Regions from separate parts of the Homo sapiens genome. Here regions 1 and 2 are each linked to region 3. The links are contacts of gene promoters, found by promoter capture Hi-C in human tissues and cell types (Jung and others, 2019). All regions are on one chromosome and are shown on one strand. The core of a region is centred on a gene start or on the middle of the fragment in contact, and the rest is flanking DNA. Distances in the headings are between cores, read along the strand shown.

Region 1 (4,608 bases), core at 772-3,271, 140 kb after region 3:
TTTTAGTAGAGACGGGGTTTCACTATGTGGGCCAGGCTGGTCTCGAGCTCCTGACCTCGTGATCTGCCCGCCTCGGCCTCCCAAAGTGCTGGGATTACAGGCATGAGACACCACGCCCGGCCTTGTTTGATTTTTGAGATAGGGTCTCACTCTGCCATCCCTTCTGGAGTGCAGTGGCACAATCATAGCTCACTGCACCCTCAATTTTCCAGGCTAAAGTGATCCTCCCTCCTCAGCCCCCTGAGTAGCTGGGACTACAGGTGCATACCATCATGCCCAGCTAATTTTTTTTAAAAATTTTTAATAGAGATGAGGTCTCACTATGTTGCCCAGGTCTCGAGCTCCTGAGCTCAAGCAATCCTCCTGCCTTGGCCTCCCAAAGTGCTGGTATTACAGGCATGAGCCACTGTGCCTGGCAATTCCAATTTTTTTTTTAACCTATGCTTTTATACCTTCTGCTTAACAAAAATGAGATTTTGTAACCCTTTTTCTCCTCCGCTTAACTGTATGTGGGGAACATTTTCCCACAGCATAAACTCTTCTTGTCTATCATTTGTAAATGTTGCATAGCATCTCATCATATGGATGTTTAATTCAACAAGCCCTCTACTCTTGAACATTGAATTCCCTCCTAATTTTTTGTTTACGATTATAAATAGTGCTGTGATGAACAAATGTCGTAGGAAAAAAATGGCCACATTATTTTGTACCTCCTCCAATCAAGAAGTAGCATCTATTTCTCCAGCCCTGAATGGGCTTGATCATGTGACTTGCTTTGCCCAATGTGGACGTTGGTAAATGTGTTGCAAGCAGAGGCTTGAAAAAAGTGTTTATGGCCAGGCACTTTGGCTCACCCCTGTAATCCCAGCACTTTAGGAGGCCAAGGCGGGTGGATCACCTGAGGTCAGGAGTTCGAGACCAGCCTGGCCAACATGGACAAACTCTGTCTCTACTAAAAATACAAAATTAGGAATGGTAGCACATGCCTGTAATCCCAGCTACTCGGGAGGCTGACACAGGACAATCACCTGAACCCGGAGGCAGAGGTTGCGGTGAGCCAAGATCGCACCATTGCACTCCAGCCTGGGCAACAAGAGCGAAACTCTGTGTCAAAAAAAAAAAAGTGTTTATGGCCGGGCGCAGTGGCTCACGCTTGTAATCCCAGCACTTTGGGAGGCCAAGGCTGGTGGATCACGAGGTCAGAAGATCGAGACCATCCTGGCTAACATGGTGAAACCCCGTCTCTACTAAAAATACAAAAAATTAGCCGGGCGTGGTGGCGGGCGCCTGTAGTCCTAGCTACTCCAGAGGCTGAGGCAGGAGAATGGTGTGAACCCAGGAGGCGGAGCTTGCAGTGAGCCGAGGTCGCGCCACTGCACTCCAGCCTGGGCGACAGAGCAAGACTCCATCTCAAAAAAAAAAAAAAAAGTGTTTATGTACTGGGGCTTGCCCCTTCTTTGTTGCTGAGAATCTTAAGGCCACCATATGAAGAAGCCTGGGCAAGCCTACTGGAAGAGGAGATAATACACAGAGACACTGTTCAGGCATCCCAGCTGAAGCCCAAAAATGTAAATGAAGCCATTCTAGACCATGCTAAACCATCCAGCTCCTGCTGAGCTGGCCAATCCCAAAAAATCACAGAACATGAGAAATAATCAATGTTTGTTATTTTAATCCAGTTTGAGATGATTTGTTACACAACAAAAGCTAATTGATAAAACTATCCCATGGATAATGATTATTTCCTGGAACAATTTCCTAGAAGTAAATTTTCTGGGTCAAAGAGTATGCACACTTTCATACCTTTTGATTCATATTGCCAAAAAGGTTGTATCAACTTCTAAGCTACCAGCAATGTATGAGTGTTCATATCTTCCATCTTTATCTATACTGGACTTTGATGTTTCTTTTGTTTTTGAGATGGAGTCTTGCTCTATCGCCCAGGCTGCTGTGCAGTGGCGCCATCTTAGCTCACTGCAACCTCCATCTCCCAGATTCAAGCAATTCTCCTGCCTCAGCCTCTGGCGTAGCTGGGATTACAGGCACCCGTCACCACGCCCGGCTAATTTTTGTATTTTTAGTAGAGACTAGGTTTCACCATGTTGGCCAGGTTGGTCTCAAACTCCTGACCTCAGGTGATCCGCTCACCTTAGCCTCCCAAAGTGCTGGGATTACAGGCATGAGCACCACACTGGGCCTCATCGATGTTTCTTGTTATCTTCATGACTACATTGTGTTTGTAAATTTAACACACAAGCCATTGTCCATTCCCTCTCAATTCACAATCAATTTAGACCAAAAAAAAAAAAAAAAAAAGATTATCCATGTAGGAAAAAAGACCAAAAAAAAGATTATCTATGTAGGAAAAAAGATCAAAAAAAGATTATCCATGTAGGAAAGGAAGAGTAGAAAAGAGAGAGAGAAAATAGGAGAATAAGAGAGAAACAGAGTCAAAGATGAAAAATACAGAGAAAGAAAATAGAAATATAAAACAGAGCAACCTCCAAGACTCTTATACATAGGGTATTTAACATGTAGTCGGAAATAGTTATGGGGGGCTGGGCGTGGTGGCTCAGGCCTACAGTACTTTGGGAGGCCAATGCAGGAGGATTACTTGAGCTCAGGAGTTTGAGACCAAATTGGGCAACATAGTGAGACCTCATCTGTATAAAAAAAAAAAAAGGCCAGGTGTGATGGAATGCACCTGTAGTCCCAGCTACTTGGGAGGCTGAGGTGGGAGGATCGCTTGAGCATAGGAGGTTGAGGCTGCAGGGAGCTCTGATAATGCCAGCCTGGGTGATAGAGCAAACCCTGTCTCTAAAAATTGGAAGGAAGGAAGGAAGGAAGGAAGAGAGGAAGGAAAGGGGAGGGGAGGGGAGGGGAGGGGGGGATGGTTACGGGTCTAAAAATAATTTGGGTCATGAAAGAGACTTGAAAAGAAAATGCCCATTTAGGCCAAGCCTAGTGCATCTGAGAGCAGTGTAAAAATAGGTAACAGGCTCTATCATATGTGGTTGCATTTAATTCTCACAGCAACTCTCTGAGACAGGGGTGATTATTCCCATTTTATAGATGAGAAAAATTAACAGTCAGAGCTTTCAAGTAACTTGATAAAGATGATACAGCTGATAAAGAATTGAGCCCAAATTTGAGCCCAAGTCTGCCTGTCTTGGAAATTTATGTATTTCCACTTATTCTTCCTAGAAGGGATGTAGCAAAACACTAGCAACTAATGCAGGGAGGAAGTGTAGCCACCTTTTGATTCATATTGCTAAACTGCACTCCAGAAAGGAACCATACTCCCTGGGTTTGAATCCCAGCTCTGCCACTTACAACCTGTATAACTCTGAGTGTTTCTATGTCTCAGTTTCCTCATCTGTAGAATGGCTTCATAAGTGTCATGAGTGCATAAGATGTAAACCACTTGGAGCAGTGGCTGCCACATAGTAAAGTGCTGTCTAAACTTGCTATTTGTAGTATGCTGTTGCAGTGACCCTGGGAATATTTCTAATGATCCTGTTGCCAGGTGGCCCATACGTAGTAGCTTTCATTATGCAATCATGCACCACATAACAACCTTTATGTCAATGATGGACTGCATGTATAATAACAGTGGTTTCATAAGATTATAATGCTGTAAGCCAGGCGCAGTGGCTCACATCTGTAATCCCAGCACTTTGGGAGGCCAAGGTGAGTGGATCACTTGAGGTCAGGCATTGAAGACCAGCCCGGCCAACATGGTGAAATCCCGTCTCTACTAAAAATACAGAAATTAGCTAGGTGTGGTGGTGCGTGCGTGTAGTCCCAGCTACTCAGGAGGCTGAGGCAGGAGAATCGCTTGAACCCAGGAGGCGGAGGTTGCAGTGAGCCAAAATCGTGCCACTGCACTCCAGCCTGGCGACAGAGCGAGACTTCGTCTCAAAACAAACAAACAAACAAACAAACAAACAAAACACATTGCCCATTATGTGTCATGCACTGTCCCATATACTTTACAAGTACTATTTCATTTAATTCTCACAACTAGCCTTTGAAGTAGGTATTAGTCTTTTTTTTTTTTTTTTTTGAGACAGAGTTTTGCTCTTGTTGCCCAGGCTGGAGTGCAGTGGCGCGATCTCGGCTCAATGCAACCTCCACCTCCTGGTTCAAGCAATTCTCCTGTCTCAGCCTCCCGAGTAGCTGGGATTACAGGTGCGTGCCACCACACCCAGCTAAGTTTTTGTATTTTTAGTAGAGACAGGGTTTTATCATGTTGGCCTGGCTGGTCTTGACCTCCTGACCTCAGGTGATCCACCCACCTCGGCCTCCCAAAGTGCTGGGATTACAGGCATGAGCCACCGTGTGTGGCCTGAAGTAGGTACTCTCATTTCCATTTTACAAATGAGGAAACTGAGTCTGGATCCAGAATCTTTTATCCTTACTGTACTGTACTGTCTCCTGTTTAAGAACCATGCAATTTTGGGGTGCAAAATGCCAACAAAAGCAAATGCAACACTTCTCAGCCTGCTTCATTCATCATCTACTCTTTCTCAGCCGCAAGAACATTCTGCATTAGATCCACTGCAGCAAGTTGTCTGAGAACTGAGGTGAGTGTCAATAAATGGATTA
Region 2 (3,234 bases), core at 1-2,500, 230 kb after region 3:
CTGGCCTCCACTCAATGGGAAACTGACTCGCCTGTGAAAGACACAGTGGGAGAGCTGAAAATGAATCAGAAGCTTTATGTATATGATTTTTAAATTAAACTTTACTTTTTCAGACTGCCCCTCCCCTTTTTGTAAAAAGTCCATTTACTGTAAAATCGTTTTTTCCAGTTTGTCTGTGGTGTATTGTTTCTGGCCCACAGCCAGCTGATCACTTGTCAATGTAGGATCTATTCCAGCCTTTTGGTATCTGGGTTCAGGGTTATCTCAGTCTCCTGGCTGACTGTTCTCAACATTTATCCTCCAGTGTGGTTTTCAGTCTGGGAGAGAGTTGTGCTTTTGGCTCCTGAGGGTACCCCAGGCCCAGAAGATACCACCCATTTGGCGCAGAATTTTGAATTGGCAAGGAGCCCTGCTCATGTCCTTCCAACACTTTCAGTCTCTTAGGAAGTCAGTTCATGCTGACTTGAATGAGTCACTTGCATAGTCTAGAAATGTTCATTATTTTTATGGAAGCTTTGGGTAGAGGCTTTTAGCTACAGGCATGGGAGATGACTATGAAGAGAGTAGGACGAGAGGACTTGGTGGTTCTGGAAGCAGCTGGAGGAGCTGGCTCTCTGCTCTACATTCCAGTGGTGACCTGGGAGGGAGGGTAAGTGGAAGTGGACAGGGCAGCAATACCAATGAAGTTGGCAGGCCAGAGCCAGGGCCAGTGCCAGGACCATGTAGCGGCCTGACTACAGTCACTAACTTATGAGTAGGGGAAGAAAAAACATTAAGGAAATGGCTATGATAAGGGCTCCAGCATGTGAGCTGGCTCTTCAGCTTGGCATTAGAGGTCTCTAGGAAAGCATATGGGGTTCTGTTTTCCCCTAGGAAGTTTAGGGTAACAATCCAAAAAGATTCTCTGTGCATTAAACAGTTGTCTGTTTGATCTGGTTTTGCCTGGGAGCTGGTCCCCTGCTGGGATACCTGGGGTATTTCCTTCCCCATCATTTTCGGATCTTCATGTGAGGTGTTAGAAATAGTATTTAGGGAAATGGGTTGAAAATGAATGGCCTCAGCAGGGAGGAGGAAGAGGTGTTTCTTTTACCTTACTATGGGTAGAGTAGGGGGAGGGAGTTGGGATGAATTTTTATGAAATCCTAGAACCTTTCCATGGGGTGGGTTTTTTTGTGGGGTTGGAGAACGACAAATGAGAGTGAGACAAACGAATTACAAGTAATAGTGTGTAGGTTATCATAGACTGTCCTGGCGGTCTTGGGGTAGCAGAAGAAAGAGAACTGGTAGAGCATTGAATAGGGATAGGAGTGTTCTGGTTGTAATTGTTTTTTTGTGTTAGTGGGAAGAAGGGATGGGACCAACCAGACTGATTTGGGAATGGGTTAGATTTGTAATAGGGCAGGTAAGTTCACACTGGAGAAGCCCATGAGTTACTCGCATTTGCCCACAAGTGGAGTAAGTCACATACCAATACCAGATGCCTGGAAGTTTCTGGTGACATTTGCAGTTTTGACATTCTATTTCTTTTTTTCTTTTTTTTGAAATGGAGTTTCGCTCTTGTTGTCCAGGCTGGAGTGCAATGGCGCGATCTCGGCTCACCACAACTTCTGCCTCCCGGGTTCAAGCGATTCTCCTGCCCCAGCCTTCCGAGTAGCTGGGATTACAGGCATGTGCCACCATGCTCAGCTAATTTTGTATTTTTAGTAGAGACGAGGTTTCTCCATGTTGGTCAGGCCAGTCTCAAACTCCCAACCTCAGGTGATGCACCACCATGCCCAGCTAATTTTGTATTTTTTAGTAGAGATGGAGTTTCTCCATGTTGGTCAGGCTGGTCTCGAACTCCCGACCTCAGGTGATCCGCCTGCCTCGGCCTCCCAAAGTGCTGGGTGTGAGCCACCATACCTGGCCCTAAAGTTTTGCCATTCTTGTCTCTCATCTGTCTGTGCTGGGAACCCATCATTCTCTGGTTCTATTGGTGTATCGTGTCCTAGGTGCTGGCACTTTCATGTGCTATAAAGTGTTTCATTTGATTATTAAATTTAACCCAGCTCAATATGTCAGTAAGTTAGTTTCCACTTAACATTCCCTTGACTGCATGCTGGAATTTGTAGTATGAATGAACTACTTCTCTTCCATGCAGAAACTGACAGCATTTGAGATTTGGACAACATTTTTGAGCTTTGTGCATTTGTTGATTCCTTCTCTAGGAAAACTATTCTGTCCGTGAAGGGAGAGAGGGACATGGGAAGATGTCTAAATTGGTCACCTCCACTAAGAACTTTGGTTTTCTACTCAGAACTCTTTTTTTTTTTTGAGATGGAGTCTCACTCTGTTGCCCAGGCTGGAGTGCAGTGGCGCGATCTTGGCTCACTGCAACCTCCATCTCCCGGGTTCAAGACTACAGGCGCTTGCCACCACACTCGGCTAATTTTTCATATTTTTAGTAAAGGCAGGGTTTCACCGTGTTGGCCAGGATGGCCTTGATCTCCTGACCTTGTGATCCGCCTGCCTTGGCCTCCCAAAGTGCTGGGATTACAGGCGTGAGCCACCGCGCCCGGCCTCAAAACTCTAACTGTTACTCCTTAAGGACTTGTATGTCTTTCCCAGTAAACAGAATCATTAAATGACATATAGGACAGTGTACCACACTGGAGAGAGTATGGACCCTAGAGTGAGGTCAGACTAGGGTGTTTCTTCTCCTGCCCACAGGGCGTGTAACCACTGATAACTCACCTGGCTTCTCTGAGCCTCAGTTTCCTCATCTCTAAAACAGAAAAGATAATACCTACCTTACAGAGTTGTGTGAATGTTACAAAAGGTAAAGTACACGAGGTTCCTAGCACATTGCCTTTCATTCTGCTGCTTTGGAATGCCTTTGGTGACCCTGGGGTATTTGTGGCAGTGTTTGGGTTTCTGGGTTCCTGGCTCCTCTACCTCCGTGGTAGCCTTTCCTTCCTCAGGGGTCGGGGAGAGGAAGAAGCTTCCACTAGTTTTCCTACAGGAACCTCTGGAGGTAGCAGGTTGATTTTTGCAGTGGAATTTGTGTTTTTGTGCAACACAAACCTTTTCCTGAGCACCAAGGCAGCACTTATTTGCAAAGCCCCATAAGCCTGACTCCTTTTTAGAGATCCCCTAGCAGAGTTTATGGTGGTCACACAGAGCTGCTTTTTAGATGCATTTGCGGGAACTGGGAAATGAGCCTTCAACTTGTACTTGACTTGTACTTGTTCTCCT
Region 3 (3,529 bases), core at 331-2,830:
TAAGCACAAATGCCTTTCGGCAGCGGATTCACCACTTCCCAACTTCCCAAGGTTGCGGGAATCATTTAAAATAAATTCTGCAATCGGACCTACTTTCCATACCCAAACACCCCCCCAAGAGTGTGTGTGTGTGTGTGTTTGTGTGTGTGTGTGTGTGTCCTATTTAATTCCTTCTCCCCTCCCCCATTTCTACCTCTGGATTTGTAGGGCAGTTGAACATTCCTTTTCTACAACGTGCATTCATTTAATGGAAAACTTTTACTTAGTTGGCTTCAGCCTTTCCTTTTCTAGGATAAATCAAATGGTTTTCGTTCCGCACCCTAACGAGGCAAGAAATGACAAACTCCTCGGTCCCCCTAGGCGGGCGCCGGAGCACGACGGGTCAAGTCGGAATCGCCACGTGGAAACAGCTCTCAGCATCGCGAACTCCAAATCCCGACGTGCAACGCGGGGCGGGATGGGAACAGTTTGCAGGAACTGCAGAAGCCTGTGGCGTGGAACCTGGACAGGTCCCGTGCAGAAAGGGCGCTATGCCTTACAGAAAAGTTCCTTGCCTCCCAAATGACGCCCAGCCTTCCTGCCCCGTTCCACCGCTTTCCCACGGCCCCGCCCCTCTACAGAGTTGGTTTATTCCCCGCAGCCACCGCTTCTTTCCCCAAAGAGAAAAAGGTGCTGCTGCGCCTTTTCAAGCCTTGGACCTTTACGCCCGCACTTTCCTCTGCCCAGAAAGCTTACTGCTTAACTCCAGTACAACTTACTGGTGCGCCTGGATCCACCCCCGTCTCCACTCTGCTTAAGACACAGGAGGCTGATAGGCTGGAAGAATGAATAGATGACATAAAATAGTCATTGTTATCCCCACATAACTTGGCAGCAAGATTGTGGAACTCTGCAGTCAGACAGATCGGGTTCCAATACCAGTTCTTCCACTTACTAGCTGGGTAAACTTCCTTCATCCTTCTGAGAGTTCAAGAAACGTTTGCTGAACGAATGAATAAGATGTTTTGCAGAGATAATGCTTGTATCGTGCCTGGCCCAAAATCAGCGCTCAATGGAATTACTGGTCTCCCTACTATATGCCTGCCACCTTCTCTATTTATGCAGGTTCTGAGTTCCTCGCAGCGGGGGAACATCTGGCTCGGTTCTATCTCCCCAAGGCGCTGGGTTCCCAGAAGTTTCTAGAATGAATACGGAGGGCTACATATTTCACATGCGCGGGGCGGGGAAACTGCTGGGCGATTACAGATTCCCGATGGAGCTGGCCCCTTCGTGGCGACCACAAGTCCTATCACGCCACAAGAATCTCGGCTTGTTCACCTACAAATGAAGGCCGACGATACTTGCAGACCGAGTCTGACATCTATGGGACCCCACTCCTACCCTGCGCCTCAGGGGCCGGGACAACCGTGACCCGTACCGACTCCTCGCGCCTCCGGGATCAACCTCAGACCCCTGTGGGCTCCCGGGGAAGACGCATGCGCACTGCTCCCTCCTCGTCTCCTTCCCTTCGTTAATTAGTCCATCGCATTTCAAGTGCTGGATCCTTTTTGTCCCCTACTGCGTGCGGTGGCAGCTTCCTTGCGGAAGTGGTGACCGTGAGAGAAGAAGATGGCGGCCCCTGTAGTGGCGCCGCCTGGTGTGGTGGTTAGTCGGGCTAACAAGCGCAGCGGCGCGGGGCCGGGAGGCAGCGGTGGCGGGGGAGCCAGAGGGGCGGAGGAGGAACCGCCGCCGCCCCTACAAGCAGTTCTGGTGGCCGATAGCTTCGATCGCCGCTTCTTCCCCATCTCCAAGGACCAGCCTCGGGTGAGCGCCGCGCACGCGAGCAGCCAGAGGGCAGGAAGGGTGGCAGGGCTGGAGCAAGTTCTCATTTCGGCTAACTACAACAGCATGCCCTTGAAGGACCTGCGTCTATGCTGTTATCCTAAAACCGGATGCAGAGGGACTGTCTAAACCCTGATGACTGCTGACCAAGTTAGTGGCCGGCAGATTTGGGCATTCGTAATGCTGTCCACCTCGGGTTTGAAAGGAATGAAGAGAGCTAAATGTAGAAACAGCGCTTGAGAGAAGCCTTCACGCGGGGATTCAGTGCCCCTAGAAGAGGCTGCGCCGCTTTTAACCTTGCCGATGACGGTTGCTTAGGTGAAAAGAAACGACCTTTTGCCTCTGAAAGGGCGGTAATATGCCTTAAAAAGAGCGGGCTAGATCTCAGGCAGTGTATTTTTTTTTTCCTTCCAGGTTCTAATGATAGCCGGTGCTATCTGTCGAAAGGACAAAATGGGTTTAGTGGTTGATTGCCATCAGCCCCCGAGTTGTCTAGACAATGGGGTATTGGACTCAGCTGGGTCGTTCAGCAGTCAGTTCAGAAAGAGGGAACTGCATTGGATTTAAGGAAAATCCTCTCTAATTCCCTCGAAAAAGCCTAATGGCTGTTCATTTTTGACAAGTGACGGGAGATGGCTAACCTCTGACACTTAGAAAGGGATCAAGGAAGGAAATCTTATGGGGAAGAAGGCCTTAGCAATGCTTAAATTTATGGAAATATGATTGATTTCCAGTATTATCCTTTGCCAGCAGTGAACTGCCATTCTGTCACAGCTCTGTGTCTGATACAAGGCACATAGATTCTGTACTTACCATCCCCAAATTGCAATGTCTCAGACTCAGGCTTAGAGCATGGCATGAACATCAAAGGCAGGAACCTGTTTATCTTTGAATTGGAAAGATACAGCAAAATTACACTGTTTGGAAATACGAATAGAGGAGTGAAAATTGTTGCAGTGGGGTACCCAAAGGGATTCGAGACCTCAAGTTTTTTTTCATCTTGTATCCTTCAGGTCCTCTTGCCCCTGGCCAATGTGGCATTAATTGACTACACTCTGGAATTCCTGACTGCCACAGGTGTACAGGAAACATTTGTCTTTTGTTGCTGGAAAGCTGCTCAAATCAAAGAACATTTACTGTAAGGCCCTGCAACTTTTCTTTCCATGTTTCGCCATCTTTTTCCAGTTTTTTCAGGATGAATGTAACTAAGGGGAAATGTGAGAGGGGAAAAATGTGTCTACTTAGATGTCATTGTAAGTTCTAAGGGTATTTTCTACACTTATCAGGAGGTGAGCAGCTGAAACTTTGTATCTGTCTGTCTTGGGTTTTCTGTGACAAAGATTAAAGAATAAACTTGGGTTTTTTCTGAATCTCATTATAAAGTTTGGTGCCAGTGGACTTTGCTTTTATTTAATGGCTTCAGTATGGAAGTTACAATGATAACATCTTTGTTTTCCCACTGAGTTTCTAAATCTTGTTTGTTCTCACCTTCAAGGATATAAATGAGCTCCTTGTCATCTTTGTATTCCCACTGCCTAGCTCAGTCCCAAGCATATAGTGAGCACTTACATGTTTGTTGAAATCTTGAAAACTAGGGAATCGCATTGCTTATGGAAGTCCAGGATGTAAAGACTAGGACATTAGCATGGTCTCCATCAGACAGTTCCTAAATGTTATATGGATTGCAGAAGGGGAAAGCTGACGTGAA

What was found. Contacts are between HindIII fragments. The study calls those that stand out against the background at their distance.
Region 1: a fragment that was not itself captured here is called in contact with the fragment with the promoter of EIF2B5 in region 3 in 3 of the 25 tissues and cell types used here (H1 embryonic stem cells, mesendoderm cells and small bowel).
Region 2: a contact is called between a fragment that was not itself captured here and the fragment with the promoter of EIF2B5 in region 3, in 3 of the 25 tissues and cell types used here (H1 embryonic stem cells, dorsolateral prefrontal cortex and spleen).

Annotation. Positions count from the first base shown.
Region 1 is chr3:184,269,497-184,274,104 of GRCh38, forward strand. The region is part of intron 2 of EEF1AKMT4-ECE2 (EEF1AKMT4-ECE2 readthrough); the gene reads left to right. Among named protein-coding and RNA genes, the nearest start is that of ECE2, 4.2 kb to the right of the region's middle. The HindIII fragment of the contact is 8,798 bases long and covers 1-4,608 here.
Region 2 is chr3:184,368,425-184,371,658 of GRCh38, forward strand. POLR2H (RNA polymerase II, I and III subunit H) reads left to right here. Exons shown (of 6, transcript NM_006232.5): 6 at 1-167. Among named protein-coding and RNA genes, the nearest start is that of THPO, 8.2 kb to the right of the region's middle. The HindIII fragment of the contact is 4,081 bases long and covers 1-3,234 here.
Region 3 is chr3:184,133,778-184,137,306 of GRCh38, forward strand. EIF2B5 (eukaryotic translation initiation factor 2B subunit epsilon) reads left to right here and starts at 1,581. Exons shown (of 16, transcript NM_003907.3): 1 at 1,581-1,803; 2 at 2,835-2,959. The coding sequence starts at 1,609. EIF2B5-DT (EIF2B5 divergent transcript) reads right to left here and starts at 1,484. Exons shown (of 2, transcript NR_183721.1): 1 at 759-1,484; 2 at 1-501. RefSeq lists enhancers at 1-611, 1,481-1,540, 1,861-1,930 and a silencer at 1,681-1,790. The HindIII fragment of the contact is 14,690 bases long and covers 1-3,529 here.